5 separate regions of the Homo sapiens genome follow, and regions 2, 3, 4 and 5 are each linked to region 1. The links are contacts of gene promoters, found by promoter capture Hi-C in human tissues and cell types (Jung and others, 2019). All regions are on one chromosome and are shown on one strand. The core of a region is centred on a gene start or on the middle of the fragment in contact, and the rest is flanking DNA. Distances in the headings are between cores, read along the strand shown. Region 1 holds the start of GGACT (gamma-glutamylamine cyclotransferase). Region 2 overlaps UBAC2 (UBA domain containing 2). Region 3 overlaps ITGBL1 (integrin subunit beta like 1). Region 4 has its middle 22 kb from the start of LNCARGI. Region 5 has its middle 20 kb from the start of LINC01232.

Region 1 (3,434 bases), core at 658-3,157:
AAGAAGTTAAACTGAAGGCTTCATCCCACAGAGCCTATTCTATGTTAGATTGGGCTTCCCCAGCCTTATCTGGGATGCAACTTAACACTTGTCTTGGCTAGGCACTGTGGCTCATACCTGTAATCCCATCGCTTTGGGAGGCCAAGGCGGGTGGATCGCCTGAGCTCAGGAGTTCAAGACCACCCTGGGCAACATGGTGAAATCCTGTCTCTACCAAAAAATACAAGAAACTAGCCGGGCGTGATGGTGGGTGCCTGAGGTCCCAGCTACTCAGAAGGCTGAGGTGGGAGGATCACTCGAGCCTGGGAAACAGGGGTTGCAATGAGCCAATAACATGCTACTGTACTCCAACCTAGGTGACAGAGTGAGAACCCATCTCAAAACAAACAAAAAATTCGTCTAGTCTGCGTCATCTTTAATTTTCCTTTATCAGAAGAATTATTTATCTATTTGTCTCACTTTCCTTTGCTGACATGATTTTCCCCCCTCAAAAAAGAGATGAAAGTGGAATCATTCTTTCGCTTCAAAAAGTTAAGAATTACTGCTGTCTTTAAAAATATTAATATGAGGCCGGGCGCGGTGGCTCACGCCTGTAATCCCAGCACTTTGGGAGGCCGAGGCAGGCGGATCACGAGGTCAGGAGATCGAGACCATCCTGGCTAAAATGGTGAAACCCCGTCTCTACTAAACATACAAAAAATTAGCCGGGCGTAGTGGCGGGCGCCTGTAGTCCCAGCTACTTGGGAGGCTGAGGCAGGAGAATGGCGTGAACCCGGGAGGCGGAGCTTGCAGTGAACCAGATCCCGCCACTGCACTCCAGCCTAGGCGACAGAGCGAGACTCCGTCTCAAAAAAAAAAAAAAAAAAAAAAAAAATATTAATATGAGCTAGACAAGGTTTTTTAATACATTTCAATTTAATTATGAAGTGTCCAAGACAAGAAAAAACTGTGAAAACCAACGACTTATGTACCTGATGGTTTAGATTTCTTTTGGAATTGTACATCTGTTCAAAATACAATTACATCTGCATTGTTGGAAACGTTTGGATAAAAACCAGTTTATATAAAGGTTTCAATCAGTCCACATCCATGAGAAAGTAGAAAGGGCAGGAAATGATTAAGGGGGATTATTGCTAATCTGATAAACACAGATTTGTGTCTTTCGGAGAGACAGAAGTGTCACTCTCTCCATAGCTGTACCATTCCTACCACCTGGCCCCCAAGTGGCATTGCTTTAACCCATTGTCTCTAGGGAAAATGTTCTCTTTCGATTTTGGTTCTCAGTCCTATAATTTCTGGGGCTTAAATTAGTCCTGGAGCTAGGGAAGAGGTGATGTCATCCTTCCATTGTCTCCTTCGGCCACAGTTTCATTTTAAGAGTATTGGTAAGTAAGTGGGCAGTGTGACTAGATGGCGGTCTGGACTCGGTATCAGGGCTGTGTGCATGCCCAGCTGGGGGGCCTTGGTGGTGTGTGATGTGATAGATACACACATGGTTGGCATCCCCAAGTGTGTCTGCGCTTGGGTTCATTTGTGTGTGCATGTGTGTCCATTTGATGTGGCGTGTCCCCAAGCTTGTGGAGTCGTCTGTGAGTCTGTTTTGTGGGGTGTGGCCCAGGTGTGTCAGGGTCCACCATGCAGTCGGGGCTTGAGCCTGAGTGCCCAGGTGTGTTAGGGTGGATGTGACTTCTGTGGGGCGTCCCCAGGTGTGTGAAGCTGGTTGCGCTGTGTCTGCGGCGGGGCGTCTCCGGCGGGCATCGGCGTGGGTGGGTCTGGCTGTTAGGCGGCCAGTTGTGCGAGCGGCCACGTGTGTGCGAGGGCGCCGCAGGGGCTGGCGGGCCTCGCGTTCCGCCTGCAGGGGGCGCCGCCGGGGGCGGCCTGGGAGCAGAGGCGCGGGCCCGGCCCTGCATTTCCGCCCTGGCCCTGCCCTCCCCGACAGCCCCGGCTGCCGGCAGGTGAGGCGCTGAGCCCGGGCGGGGGTCGGGGCTGCGCCTGCTCCGCCCCCCAGGCGGGGTGTCCTGGCGCCCGCGGGAACCTGGGGCGTCGCTCCCTGCGCGGCGTCCGGGTCGAGGCCGCAGCACTCGGCGTCCCCGCGGGTGAGGGAGGAGGCCTGGGGCGCCGCCGGCCGGCGAGGCCAGCCGGAGGGAGGGGACGGTGGACCCCGAAACGCGTCCTCCATTGCCCCGCGCGGGGGCCACGGGCGCGATTGCCAGAACGGGCAGAGGGCGGTAAAAGCCAGGAACCGCCTCACGCACGGGCGCTGCTTCCCTGTAAAGGAAGCGTGACAGCCCACACGCTGGCTTTCAGAGGACCTCAGCTGAACCGGGCTAACACTTCTCAGAAATTGTTTTTCATTTTAAAGATTTCCTGTTTGTAAGGAGACTAGAAGCTGCAAAAGAAATCTAAAAACGTCTCCTGGCACTTGTGAATTTCTGATCTAAGGTTTCTTTGGAGCCATTAGTGAAACTTCTGAAATTTTGAAGAAATTTACTGCCTTGATTATTAATTATGGTTATCATTGCTGTTTTACTCTGTGGGCCAAGGACAACGCCACAAGCTCAAAAGCAGACTTAAGTGTTTTTTGAACACAGCTTCTTAACTCCACGCTTAGTTGATTTAATATTTAAGTGATAAGAAAATGCAGTCGATTTCTGGCCCTTTTTATTGTTTGGGATGAAGTCTTGCCCTGTTGCCCAGGCTGGAGTGCAGTGGCGCGATCTCGGCTCACTGCAACCTCTGCCTTCCGGGTTCAAGCGATTCTCCTGCCTCAGTCTCCCGGGTAGCTGGGATTACAGGCGCCTGCTATCACGCCCAGCTTATTTTTGTGTTTTTAGTAGAGACAGGGTTTCACCATGTTGGCCAGGCTGGTCTCGAACTCCTGACCCCGTGATCCGCCCGCCTTGGCCTCCCAAAATGTTGGGATTACAGGCATGAGCCACTGCACCCGGGATTTGTGGCCTTTTTTAAAAGCAAGTTATTCGTTTTGCTAAATGTCCCAGGAGAAATGATTAATGAAAAACTAAAGGTGACCTATTTAAAGTGTAGGTCTTACACACACGTAGGTGTCCTTATGTACATTTACCTGTAAGTGAAGACTTTTCCCTGGCCTCATTCAATTTATTGAAATGCTCAGATGAAGAGCACCTGCAGTTTGCCCGTATTTTCCCAAAATGCCTTGTTTTCCTGAAACTATTCCCAGAAGAAGCCAGACTTCCCTGAATAAGCAGACCACTGTGTTCTAGCAGAGATTCGTATTGTAAAAGCTGAGTTTGCAAAGTTAAATTAATTTCTAATTGGTGGATTTTTGTACGGAAATACTTTGGGCTAGTTGATTTTACTAACCAGGCCCTAACTACTACTAGTTAGGAGAGGGTGGTTGTTTGTGGTGATCTGGATAGTAGGTAGCAGTAAGCAGAATAGAAGAGGGATTTTAA
Region 2 (3,317 bases), core at 667-3,166, 1.3 Mb after region 1:
TTTTTTTAATCTAAACCGATAGTCTCTGTCCTGTAATAGGCAAGCTCAACCCATTTAAGTTTGTTGTGACACATCCCTACCCTCTTGTGTTTTCTACTTACCATCCTCATTCTTTGTTTTTTTCCCATTGTCTCTTTTCTGGATAATAAAATGTTTTATTTCCATTTTTGCTCTCTTTTGCTTTAGGTTTTATTTCCATTTAGGTTATAATGACTAACCTATCAACACTGTACAGAATGCATACCTCTAACATAACATGACCACAATCCTCTGCTAACCCTCAGTGTCTATGAACATCTCAGTTTTAAGGTTGTTAGAATGAAGTTAGCTGAGATCCAAGTCATTTAATACAGCAGGGAGAGAAGCAGATTTGCAGACAGTGCTTTTGATCAGGGTAGAGATAGTCTTTAAGGAAATACTGTATAGTTCTTTAAATATACAGTAGCAACATCACTAGATATGCTGAAAGTGCCCCTTAATTTTGGTGACTTCCAGGTGAGATTTATGTACACACAGTTCTATCAGAGGAATTATTTTTCTTTTAAAAATAATCACACAGGATTTATTGCTCTGTTCTTCCTGCTTTAATCAAAGTTTACCCTCATCTACAGAACTTTATTGTAGGAGTTTTCCATTTTTCAATTTAGTACTTAAAATTTCTGCTTTAACATTATTTATAACAAGAAAAGAATTGGAAAGAATCCAAAAGTTCATCAAGGGAGTAGCTAAGCAAATTATGCATTGACACATTGGAAGACTGTAGAATATCTATCAAATGTTTATATAAAATATACACGACAAATATATACATTGCACTGACATGAAGATGTTTGGTGAATAAAGCAAGAAACAAAATATAAAGTGTGATGCTTGCTACTATGTGCAAAGGTAGAAGTATAGATTGCATGGATCCATGGAGTACTTGCAGATTGATAGAGTTTTAAAATTTAATAATTTCCCCTTGAAGTAGCTTAAGTCTTTTTCTCTCTCATTTTCTTTATCTTTCTTCTTTTTTTGTCATTTTAGTCATGGTTGTTGCGGTCGTCGTCTTCTTCTTTTTAAAAAGAAAATCTAACTTTCAGTTCCTAACATGGACTAAGCCTATTTCTCAGACTTTTAGGTTAACACAAATCAGATCACTGTGGTAAGTTCATATTTCACTACATAAATGTGGTGACTGATTTCATTTCCTGGCAGTGATATGCATTTGGTTAAAAAAAAATCCAACTGAAATTAAATTTAAAAGCAAAGCTTAATGCCTGTCTGAAATGTGGGGTGCTTTACTTAACCAGACAATGATTCAAAAAAGGGAAGGGGAATTTCTGCCTAAAAATTTAGTGCATTCCCTTCTGTCACAAAAGTGCGTTTGCCCTATTTAAATGGTTCTGTTTCCTTTGCCAGAGCTTTGCCAAAGTCAGCAAATTGTGAGAGTAAAAACACAAATTTTATTCTGTTCTTCCTGTTATCATATATGTAACCATATTATAATTATAAACTGTTAAAAATTGCATGTCATGAAATTTTAAAACTTAGATATATAAAAGACAGTTTGGATTGCTTTGATACATTATTTAAACTTTTTTAAAACTAATGAGTAATCAAACTGAATACATATGCTTTTACTTATATGATCCTTCTTGGTTTTTTTCTAGACACCTGGACCACCACCAATGGATATACAAATGGCAAACAATTTTACTCCGCCCTCTGCAACTCCTCAGGGAAATGACTGTGACCTCTATGCACATCACAGCACGGCCAGGATAGTAATGCCTCTGCATTACAGCCTCGTCTTCATCATTGGGCTCGTGGGAAACTTACTAGCCTTGGTCGTCATTGTTCAAAACAGGAAAAAAATCAACTCTACCACCCTCTATTCAACAAATTTGGTGATTTCTGATATACTTTTTACCACCGCTTTGCCTACACGAATAGCCTACTATGCAATGGGCTTTGACTGGAGAATCGGAGATGCCTTGTGTAGGATAACTGCGCTAGTGTTTTACATCAACACATATGCAGGTGTGAACTTTATGACCTGCCTGAGTATTGACCGCTTCATTGCTGTGGTGCACCCTCTACGCTACAACAAGATAAAAAGGATTGAACATGCAAAAGGCGTGTGCATATTTGTCTGGATTCTAGTATTTGCTCAGACACTCCCACTCCTCATCAACCCTATGTCAAAGCAGGAGGCTGAAAGGATTACATGCATGGAGTATCCAAACTTTGAAGAAACTAAATCTCTTCCCTGGATTCTGCTTGGGGCATGTTTCATAGGATATGTACTTCCACTTATAATCATTCTCATCTGCTATTCTCAGATCTGCTGCAAACTCTTCAGAACTGCCAAACAAAACCCACTCACTGAGAAATCTGGTGTAAACAAAAAGGCTCTCAACACAATTATTCTTATTATTGTTGTGTTTGTTCTCTGTTTCACACCTTACCATGTTGCAATTATTCAACATATGATTAAGAAGCTTCGTTTCTCTAATTTCCTGGAATGTAGCCAAAGACATTCGTTCCAGATTTCTCTGCACTTTACAGTATGCCTGATGAACTTCAATTGCTGCATGGACCCTTTTATCTACTTCTTTGCATGTAAAGGGTATAAGAGAAAGGTTATGAGGATGCTGAAACGGCAAGTCAGTGTATCGATTTCTAGTGCTGTGAAGTCAGCCCCTGAAGAAAATTCACGTGAAATGACAGAAACGCAGATGATGATACATTCCAAGTCTTCAAATGGAAAGTGAAATGGATTGTATTTTGGTTTATAGTGACGTAAACTGTATGACAAACTTTGCAGGACTTCCCTTATAAAGCAAAATAATTGTTCAGCTTCCAATTAGTATTCTTTTATATTTCTTTCATTGGGCACTTTCCCATCTCCAACTCGGAAGTAAGCCCAAGAGAACAACATAAAGCAAACAACATAAAGCACAATAAAAATGCAAATAAATATTTCATTTTTATTTGTAAACGAATACACCAAAAGGAGGCGCTCTTAATAACTCCCAATGTAAAAAGTTTTGTTTTAATAAAAAATTTAATTATTATTTCTTGCCAACAAATGGCTAGAAAGGACTGAATAGATTATATATTGCCAGATGTTAATACTGTAACATACTTTTTAAATAACATATTTCTTAAATCCAAATTTCTCTCAATGTTAGATTTAATTCCCTCAATAACACCAATGTTTTGTTTTGTTTCGTTCTGGGTCATAAAACTTTGTTAAGGAACTCTTTTGGAATAAAGAGCAGGATGCTGCAAAGTTATGAGTCTGTCCCTCAATGCTCCCTGTCAACTATCAG
Region 3 (3,101 bases), core at 22-2,521, 1.0 Mb before region 1:
TACTATCCTATGTTTTCTTCTAGTAATTTTGTAGCTTTGGGTTTTACATTTAAGACTTTAATGCATTTTCAGTTGATTTTTGTATATCATGAGAAGTAGTGATTTAATCTCATTCTTCTGCATATGGATATCCAATTTCTCCAGCACCATTTATTGAAAATATTATCTTTTTTCCAATGTGTGTTCTTAGCACTTTTGTTGAAAATCAGTTGGGTGTCAGTCATGGGACTTTTGATAGGAATTGCAACGAATCTGTAGATCACCTTAGGTAGTGTGAATATTTTGACAATATTCATTTTTCTGATCCATGATCATGAGATATCTTTCCATTTATTTGTGTCTTCAATTTCTCTCATCAATGTTTTACAGTTTTTGGTGCAATAATCTTTCACATCCTTGGTTAATTTTATTCCTAAGTATATTATTTTTGACACGACCGCAGATAAAATTGTTTTCTTAATTTCTGTTTTGGTTACTTCACCGAAGCAGAATGTTATCTTATGGAGTCTCCACACTTTATTTTCATGCACTTTTTAAGCAAATACTACATGTTTAGCCTGGAGACCCTTAGAGTAAAACCAGTAACCTACATGGAGTTTACAATCCTTGAAGATTAGCCTAGTGTATTCCAAAGAAGTCAGAAAAGATATTAAATTTTTCAACACATGAATATACAGTTTGCAAAGAATTGTGAGAAACGGTGTGGTTTAGCAAAAATCGACCTACATTATCAATAAAATAATGGGTTCAAATCCTGATTCTGCTTCCTACAGAGTGGGGCTGGTCAAATGACCACATCTGAGTTTCAGTTTCTTCATTTTAAAAAGGAAGAAAATATATTATCAATCCACATTTCTTCGGAAGTACATTAAATAGTTTAAAAGCTACATAAAAAGGAGCTACTGGTTTTTGTATTCATCAGTTCCCACATTATAAGCAAGTAGAGGAAAGCACAGTTTCAACTGAGCTTTCCATAATTCCTAATAAACATGAAGCTACTCATCACCGCAGATATAGAACAAAGTAGATTTCTATAATTGCTGCAAAAATGCATGAAGAATTTTAAAAGTGGAATTACACTTTTTAAAAGTACATAGAAATGCTAATGGATGAAAATGCATGCTGTCTTTAGCATCTGATATTAATGTATATCATCCAATATGAAAATTGGCCTCCAGTAAAGACTAGACCATTTTACTAATATTCCTTGAGGTTTGCGGTTCCATCTTCTGAATTTGAAGAAACTGGACAATACACATATGTAGAAGCTTTTCACCATTTAACTAATTTTTAGTAAAAAAAAAATCACAAAATCATAAATCAAAGTGGAATGAGACATTAGGGATCACTGAATTTAAATCTCTCATTTAATCCCAAATTCAATTCAATTCAGATGCTCATTTGTTGATCATCTGCTATGTAACAGAGTCTATTTGACAAATTGTTGCCATAATTATCTGTTCTAGACCTCAGTTGAAAGGAAAAGAAAATTGTTATTATTAATAAACATACATGACATATGAATATGATTAGACTTTACAGTATGGGAATTTTTGTAACGGTTTATGCTTATTAACAATTATATTTCATAGGTTGTTGGGTTCTATGGCTTTTGCCATTCATTCATCTCAGTTTAAGAAGTTCCCATCGGACGTGGTGACTCACGCCCATAATCCCAGCACTTTGGAAGGCCAAGGCAGGTAGATAACCTGAGTTCAGGAGTTCAAGACCAGCCTGGCCAACATGGTGAAACCCCATCTCTACTAAAAATACAAAAATTAGCTGGGCATGGTGGCAAATGCCTGTAGTTTCAGCTACTTGGGAGGCTAGGCAGGAGAATTGCTTGAACCCAGGAGGCGGAGGTTGCAGTGAGCCGAGACTGTGCCACTGCACGCCAGCCTGTGTGACACAGGGAAATTCCAACTCAAAAAAAACAAAACAAAGAAGTTCCTATCTTTCTTTATTTCCAGCCCTCATGTAAGGTTAAGGACAAACATTGCAAACAGATCTACATTGGAAATGCCTATATAAATAATGATTTTAACACATAAATATTTCACATTTAAAGTACAGTCAATTCTGTTGTTTCACAGGAGCCAATGGCTTTGAAATTCTTGGAGACAAGTGGTTTTATTTCAGCGACAGATCTGTTGTGAGGAAACTGGGCAAAGTACAGAACATGCTGACATTTGCGAGAGACTTGTTGACACTGGAACAATAACATTGCTTGTTGACACTTTAACAATAACATTGAAAACCAGATTGAAGAGGGAGAAAAAGTTTCTCCACTCTTGAAAGTTTAATGGCTGTGAAGGTTAGAACAATACATCTAGCCGATGCGGGACCCAGGAAGTCCCTAACTGCCCAAGAGAATGTCATCTGCCACTAAGGCCCACCTGAATTCACAAGCAGTGACGTGCCCCACAGGAGGATTCCCTCCCTGGGGAGGGAAAATAAAATAGAAACCTTGGGGATAAAGGCAGGTACAAAGGGAGACACACGACTGAAGGGAGAACGTTCTTAAGTTGCATAGTCGGAATCCATGTTTAAAAGCAACCATTTTTTCCTATCTGAAATCCATTCACATGTTGACATCTTTAAAAACATGTGGCAGAATAAAACAAATCCTAAAGGCAGAAGTTATTCAAAAGAGATTTTTAAAGTTGGAATCCTATCCAATTAGTAACAAAAGCCAGATTAGCTGTGGAAGCCTTAATAATTTTTCGTTTTTTAAGTTCAGATGCTCTAGACCTGCAGGAAGAAATCTTTGGCGGTCTTTCACCTTTATTCTCCCATAGGCACGTTCTGTTTTCTTATCATTTTATTTTTCTCAGTTTTTAATTCTCTCAACCTTTTTCCCCTAACATAATTCTATTATTGCAGCTTTATTTTTATATCCCATTGCTATTTCTGATGCTCTTCTACAAACATGAGGGGGAAAATACAGCCTATAAGCTCCCACACCTCTTTTCCTGTGTACTTAATGCAACATCATGAACATTCTCCAGGATCATGCTTCTAAATGCGTGCTTCACCTCCAGGCATTGCCAACTATAAGCAAAGCTGGGAAGAATATATATGTGTCCTTACTTTGGCATGTG
Region 4 (3,593 bases), core at 229-2,728, 1.1 Mb after region 1:
CACTTTTGTTTGGATGACGATCCCATTACTGTATTTATGCCCCAATAACACCAAGAAATCATCCCTGAGGGCACCATGTAACACGTATAATGTTATCAGATTTAGAGGTGCTGGGCACTCCTGTGATCTGTAAGGAACACCCACTACTGTCCTTGTGGAGAAAATGAGGCCCAAGGCAGTTAGGTCACTTGTCCAGCTTATAGCCATCAATGTCTGATGGATTTCCAACAGCAAAAGTTGTTTTGCAGCCAGCCAGGCACTTGGTAGTGCGTGCCTATAATCCCAGCTAATGGGAGGAGTTCAATTCCAGCCTGAGCAACATAATGAGACCGCATCTCTCTCTCTCTCTCTTTTTTTTTTTTTTTTTGAGACGGAGTCTCTCTCTGTCCCCCACGCTGGAGTGCAGTGGCGCGCTGTCGGCTCACTGCAAGCTCCGCTTCCCGGGTTCACGACATTCTCCTGCCTCAGTCTCCGGAGTAGCTGGGACTACAGGCACCTGCCACCACGCCCGGCTAACTTTTTTGTATTTTTAGTAGAGACGGGGTTTCACCATGTTAGCCAGGATGGTCTCGATCTCCTGACCTCGTGATCCACCCGCCTCGACCTCCCAAAGTGCTGGGATTACAAGGGTAAGCCACCGCGCCCGGCCAACCCCATCTCTTACAAAAAAAAAAAAAAAAAATGTTGTTTTGCCCCAGCAGCAGAATGGATTCTGATTTAGGGGCAATAAGATGTCTGTTAATGGAGATAGATGAAGAGGCAGGCTGTTTCTGAATCCCTGTGCCTGTTTTAAGTCTTTCTGTGCCATTGGTTAAAAGCCTTATTGAAAAATAATTTACATGCCATAAAATTCACTCATTTTAAGTGTACAATTCAATGATCTTTACTACATTTACAGAGCTGCACAGCCATCACCACAATCCTATTTGAGAACATTCTCATCACCTTAAAAGATCCCTCATGTCCATTTGCAGTTTATTTCCCCCAGAAGAAACTACTTGCATTGGAATCCTTTTCTTGGGGTCTGATTCTGAGGGAACCCAAAAGAAGACACTCCCTGCCACGGTGTGCAATACATACTGAGCCTAACGTGGACGCCCATTCCGCTCCAACCTAGATCTGCCACGCTCATCAATCATCCCCGACACATCAAAACCAGCTGCTATCATTAAAAAACAGATAATAACAAGTGTTGGTGAAGATGCAGGGAAATAGGAACCCTCATAGCCCATCAGTGGGATTGTAAAGTGGTGCAGCTGGTATGGAAACCAACCTGGCGGGTCCTGAGAAGGTTAACACAGAGTCATCACGTGACTCCACCACTCTACTGCATGGTAGATACCCAAGAGAACATATGTTCACACAAAAACTTCCAGACATCTCTTCCTAGCAGCATTATTCATAACGGCCCCAAAGTGAAAACAACTAAAAGTCCATCAACAGATAAACAGATAAAACAGAGAGGACTTCCTTATTTTGCTGACTCAGGTTGACCCCAATCTGATGTTTTTTGGAACTCTGCTCCATCTCAAAGTTTGGTTTGATTAGGTGGAACTTAGCACAAGTGACTCTATCCTGGTTTGGTCTGGTCTACTGGGGGCTACCTAGTGTAGGAGGCAAGTCCAAAACAGTGGACTCCCATAAACTTTTTTTTTTTTTTTTGAGACAGAGTCTCACTTTGTTGATCAGGCTGGAGGGCAGTGGCATGATCTTGGTTCACTGCAACTTTAACCTCTTGGGGCTCAAGCAATCCTCCCACCTCAGCCTCCGGAGTAGCTGGGACTACAAGCACATGCCACCATGCCCAGCTAATTCTTGTATTTTTTATAGCAATGGGGTTTTACCATGTTGCCCAGGCTGGTCTTGAACTCCTGGCCTCAAGCGATCCTCCTGCCTTGGCCTGCCGAAGTACAGGGATTATAGGCGTGAGCCACTGCCCCCAGCCTTTATATACCATTTTAACGAAGGGAAATAGACTGTGGAGAGGCGACTCAACAAAGGAGAAAGGGAGGCAGGGTTTGGGCTTCTAGGGGTGGAAAATTGTGGAAAGGTGACTAGGAAACATATGGTGAATAAGGTTTGTTTTGCAGATAAAAACCATTTGGAGTTAGTCTCCTCATGGTATGAGAGACATCAGAAGAGGGGGATACTTTACAAATGGAATTTTATGTCACCTTTACAAAGGGAAATTTATGGCCTACTTGGAAACAGCAGAAGGAAAGAGAGTTCCTTTGGTGTCTGCTGTTTCTTAATTGCCCTCAACTCGAAATAATCTTATGCCACAGTGGCATATTTTGGAGGTGGCATATTCTGATCCCCTCCAAAAGACTGGAATGGAGCAACAAGAGGAGCTGAATCCACTTGCCAATCCACTTGCTAATCCATAGAAGCCAGGTAGTTCAATCAATTGAAAAAAAAACACACGATTCCAGATCGCTTTCTTTGTGCACTTAATTAGTAACCCTGCATGGTAAGCAAGGCACTGTCTGGCAAGGACAGTCACAGGCAAGATGCCCATCCACTGTCAACATGATGATGCCATGTTAGGACTAATATTTTCATGAGCTCAGAAATGGGTGAGGGTGAGGGGTCCCAAATTAGAGTGCATGGCCTTCTGGTGAGTCTCAAGAATTGGAGGTGTGAAAAGAATGTGTTTTTTTATTATTGAGCAGAGCGCTAGGGCTTGAAACTGGGAGCCAGTGGTGTGGCTCTGCTGGTCAGAGAGTTTTCCCTGAGCAGCCTGCTGGGAGTGAAATTGAGTAGGAGCCGCTGCACTGGTCAATTTGCCTCCCAGCAGGCCCAGGGCTGCAGACCTAAAGCCAGCCTGAGCCAGGGAGACTGAACCTGGACCAGGGCAGGAGGAGGAGCGTGGGCTGCGCTGCACGGCTGGGGCTTTCTTTGTTGCAAGATGCATTGATTCTTAGCAAACTGCTTCGCTTGTCTCTGGAGTCTGAAGCTTTTTTTCCAGAACCCAGAACCTTGATTTTTAGTGATCTCACAACAGGCCTGGGCCACAGCAGGATGGTTTCTGTATGATCTAAGTCTTGGAAGCAGGAAATAAAAAGGGAGAAAAATATTGCAGCACACACCTTCAGTGGTAGAAAAAAAAATGTGTATTCCGATGAAAAACTATGCATCATCTCTAACCCACTCTTATGCCTTGTCAGAGTAGGATTTTTTTCCTTCTGATTCTGAGTCATATTCTGAGCTATTTTACAACTCTGCAAACTACAGATAACAGAAAACAGCCATGTGAATTCTGTCCTGTCTGATAGAGGTCTGGCTGACTCCCCTCTCCAACCTGTTAAAAAGAAACAGTTTTTAGGCCGGGCGCAGTGGCTCACGCCTGTAATCCCAGCATTTTGGGAGGCGGAGACAGGCAGATCATGAGGTCAGGAGATCGAGACCATCCTGGCTAACAGGGTGAAACCCCTCTCTACTAAACATACAAAAAATTAGCCAGGCGTGGTGGCGGGTGCCTGTAGTCCCAGCTATTTGGGAGGCTGAGACAGGAGAACGGCGTGAACTTGGGAGGCAGAGCTTGCAGTGAGCCGAGATTGCACCACTGCACTCCAGCCTGGGCGACAGAGCGA
Region 5 (3,562 bases), core at 474-2,973, 1.1 Mb after region 1:
AATTACCATATAGAATGGAAGGCGAAACTCCAAGCTGAATGTTGAAAGCTACTTAAAGAACGTTTAAGGGCAGTTTTGGCCTTCAGTATTTTTGCCAAATGTGCTGATTTTAAAACCTAATACCCAATTCAGCCACACTCCACTATAGTTGTGGCCTCTAGCTAGGGCTGTTAGAATACAGTATTATCAGTTACATTTAAATTTCAGAAAAGTCCAGGCGTGGTGGCTCACGCCTGTAATCTCAGCAATTTGGGAGGCTGAGGCAGGCAGATCACCTGAGGTCAGGAGTTTTGAGACAAGCCTGGCCAACATGGTGAAACCCCATCTGTACTAAAAATACAAAAATTAGCTGGGTGTGGTGGCATGTGCCTGTAATCCAAGTTACTTGGGAGGCTGAGGCAGGAGAATCACTTGAACCTGGGAGGCAGAGGTTGCAGTGAGCCGAGATTGCACTGTTGCACTCCAGCCTAGGTGACAGAGTGAGACTTCATCTCAAAAACAAACAAACAAACAAAAAGAATAAATTTCATATAAATAGCAAATAAATTTTTAGTATAGGTATGTCCCATGTTTATTTGGGGCATAATTAATAAACAATTTATTTGTTGTTTATTTTTATTTTCTAAATCTGGATCCGTGGTTTATAAGGTTTATAGCAAAGACTCAAAAGGGGCCCACACAATTTAGATGCATTGAAATAAAACTCTGGGAGGAAAACACTTGCAATAAAATTAAGTTATTACACAACAGTAAGAAACAGATGAACTGTCCCTATATAAAAATGCACAAAGGACATGAAGAGATAATTTACACACAAAAAAAGACATATAAATGGCAAAAAGCATTTAAATAAATATTCAGCCTTATTGTATTAACGTAATTGCATATTTTTTAAGAAAACGAAAAAAATACTTTTTTTAAAGCTACTAAGGAAGCAGTGATAATACCCAACTTATTTCACACCCTGATGATGAGTGGTTTTTTGTTTGTTTGTTTGTTGTGTTTGTTTTGAGATAGACTCTCACTTGGTCACCCAGGCTGGAGTGCAGTGATGCGATCTCAGCTCACTGAGAACCTTGACCTCCCAGGTTCAAGCGATCCTCCTGCCTCAGCCCCTCAAGTAGGTGGGACTACAGGTGTATCCCACCATGCTCAACTAACTTTTTTGTATTTTTTGTAGAGATGGAGTTTCACCATGTTGGCCAGCTGGTCTTGAACTACTGAGTTCAAGCGATCCACCTGCCTCCACCTCCTGAAGTGCTAGAATTACAGGCGTGAGCCACAACACCTGGCCTGTGACAAGTGTCTAATAGCCTTTCTGTAGGACAGTTTGGCATTACGTATTTTTTAAAAGCCTTAAGAATATGCAATTTGAAAGAACAATTATACTTCTTAGAATCAGTCCTAGGGAAACATTTAGAATATATGAAAAAATTTAGCTCCAAGTATGCTTATCAGTATAATGTTTTTATTAGTAAAAAATAGAAACTGGCCTGTGTGGTGGCCTGTATTAAGGAGTTGGTGAATGCTTCATAAAAACCTTGTTAATCTGACACAGGGGCCCATATGCTGGTCTTGCATCAGTGTGCCTTTAACATTAATGATTAATTTATAGAGAAATTGAACATATTTTATCTCTCAAAATTGGCCCATACAATCTCACTCGTCCACCTCTTCCGCAATAGTCCCTGGGCCTTGAGGAGTTGAATAGCTTTAAGTTTTGGCCCTGTATGCAGTTTATTTTGATTGGCATCTTCTACTGGACCTGAAGATGGGTCTTCAATTACTGTCAGCATTTAAAATTTAGCAGTACTTGATGTCCTTTTTAGACCCAGGAGTCAAAGCCCTGTAACTCAATGTCACAAGTACTTTAAAAGTGCATACAGAGAGATACACGGATGTAATAACCTGAATTTAAAAAAATTTTAAATCTCAGTTTTTTCCTAAGCAAACCAAAACTTAATAATAATGCGACAACTTGACCATATAAAAGTTTTTGGTTTTTAAAAAAATAAATCCTCTTATTGTGACTTACACAGATGGTTCATCATATGCTTGGACTTTCTGGTTTGTCCTGAACATCCCTCCTTCTTAAACAACCAGTCATTTTACCCTAGGACTAAATTTATCATACAAGATTCTTTCTCATATGAAATTATTTCTCTTTAAGTTTCTTACCAAAAAAAACCCTCATTATTTTTATAACTTTCTTTACATCTCTCTTATTTCCTGGTTCCTTTTACCTTGTTTTATACATGACCTTTAAATAAGCTTTGAATTAGACAAAAAATTGTTCAAATGTTTTTTTTTTTGAGACAGAGTTTCGCTCTTGTCACCCAGGCTGGAGTGTAATGGCACAATCTCTCCTCACTGAAACCTCCACCTCCCAGGTTCAAGTGATTCTCCTGCCTCAGCCTCCCGAGTAGCTGGGATTACAGGCACCCGCCACCATGCCCAGCCAATTTTTTGTATTTTTGGTAGAGACAAGGTTTTGCCATGTTGGCCAGGCAGGTCTTGAACTCCTGACCTCAGCTGATCTGCCCACCTCGGCCTCCCAAAGTGCTGGGATTATAGGCATGAGCCACTGCGCCCGGCCACTGTTCACCATTTTTTTTTTTTTTTTGAGATGGAGTCTCGCTCTGTCCCCCAGGCTAGAGTGCAGTGGCGTAATCTCAGCTCACTGTGAGCTCCGCCTCCTGGGTTCATGCCACTCTCCTGCCTCAGCCTCCCGAGTAGCTGGGACTACAGGTGCCTGCCACCATGCTCGGCTAATTTTTTGTATTTTTGGTAGAGACAGGGTTTCACCGTGTTAGCCAGGATGGTCTCGCTCTCCTGACCTCATGATCCACCCGCCTCGGCCTCCCAAAGTACTGGGATTACAGGCGTGACCCACCGTGCCCAGCTAAGTTCACCTTTTTTAAAAGGACAGATTTTTTTTTTTTTTTTTAGAAATAATGTTTTCCTATAAATATATTTTTATTGGAAAATACCCAAATAATGAAATATTTATCATTTAGTTTAATATAACTTTAGATTCTAAATTATGAGTTTGTCTACAAGTATTTATCCTATTACATTTACCTAATTATTTCATTTTAATTGTTTACCTAGATTATTTATGAAAACTGTGATAGTCATCATTTAAAGCTATGGAACCGCCATTGCAAAATTGTAACTGAGACGTGAAAAGATTTGACCTAACTGACTCCATTTTGCTTTTAACCTCCAAGGTGTCCTTGTTCATTCCTGGGCATAGGCCAAACTAACTTTGGGAGGAACTTAGTTTATATTTTAGCTTGAAACAAAGATGATAACAAACCTTACTGGCTGTGGACTAGACCACCTAAAGCCATAAGATTAGAAGTTATGGTAATCTTACTAAATTTGAGATGTAGCTATTTTTATTAAACCAATATCAATGTCTTATTTATTAAAGACTACACAAGCAAAGATCATTCTGTTTTGGGTTGGGTTTATAGTTTTGTAACCCCTATGCCAAATTTTGATGCTTTGTAGTATCTGGTAGGGATAGGTATGAAATTGAATCTCGGTCTCCAAAAAG

The links. Contacts are between HindIII fragments. The study calls those that stand out against the background at their distance.
Region 2: a contact is called between a fragment that was not itself captured here and the fragment with the promoter of GGACT in region 1, in 1 of the 25 tissues and cell types used here (heart right ventricle).
Region 3: a contact is called between a fragment that was not itself captured here and the fragment with the promoter of GGACT in region 1, in 1 of the 25 tissues and cell types used here (dorsolateral prefrontal cortex).
Region 4: a fragment that was not itself captured here is called in contact with the fragment with the promoter of GGACT in region 1 in 1 of the 25 tissues and cell types used here (dorsolateral prefrontal cortex).
Region 5: a fragment that was not itself captured here is called in contact with the fragment with the promoter of GGACT in region 1 in 1 of the 25 tissues and cell types used here (dorsolateral prefrontal cortex).

What each region holds. Positions count from the first base shown.
Region 1 is chr13:100,587,262-100,590,695 of GRCh38, reverse strand. GGACT (gamma-glutamylamine cyclotransferase) reads left to right here and starts at 1,907. Exons shown (of 3, transcript NM_001195087.2): 1 at 1,907-1,955. RefSeq lists a silencer at 1,755-2,274. The HindIII fragment of the contact is 6,002 bases long and covers 1-3,434 here.
Region 2 is chr13:99,294,499-99,297,815 of GRCh38, reverse strand. The region is part of intron 4 of UBAC2 (UBA domain containing 2); the gene reads right to left. It overlaps GPR183 (G protein-coupled receptor 183), which reads left to right. Exons shown (of 2, transcript NM_004951.5): 2 at 1,653-3,277. The coding sequence starts at 1,671. The coding sequence ends at 2,756. Among named protein-coding and RNA genes, the nearest start is that of GPR183, 11 kb to the left of the region's middle. The HindIII fragment of the contact is 3,041 bases long and covers 396-3,317 here.
Region 3 is chr13:101,589,747-101,592,847 of GRCh38, reverse strand. All of the region lies in intron 6 of ITGBL1 (integrin subunit beta like 1), which reads right to left. Among named protein-coding and RNA genes, the nearest start is that of ITGBL1, 140 kb to the right of the region's middle. The HindIII fragment of the contact is 3,689 bases long and covers 1-3,101 here.
Region 4 is chr13:99,452,604-99,456,196 of GRCh38, reverse strand. No RefSeq gene overlaps it. Among named protein-coding and RNA genes, the nearest start is that of LNCARGI, 22 kb to the right of the region's middle. RefSeq lists a silencer at 1,288-1,582 and an enhancer at 2,329-2,828. The HindIII fragment of the contact is 4,929 bases long and covers 1-3,593 here.
Region 5 is chr13:99,477,920-99,481,481 of GRCh38, reverse strand. No RefSeq gene overlaps it. Among named protein-coding and RNA genes, the nearest start is that of LINC01232, 20 kb to the left of the region's middle. The HindIII fragment of the contact is 5,130 bases long and covers 1-3,562 here.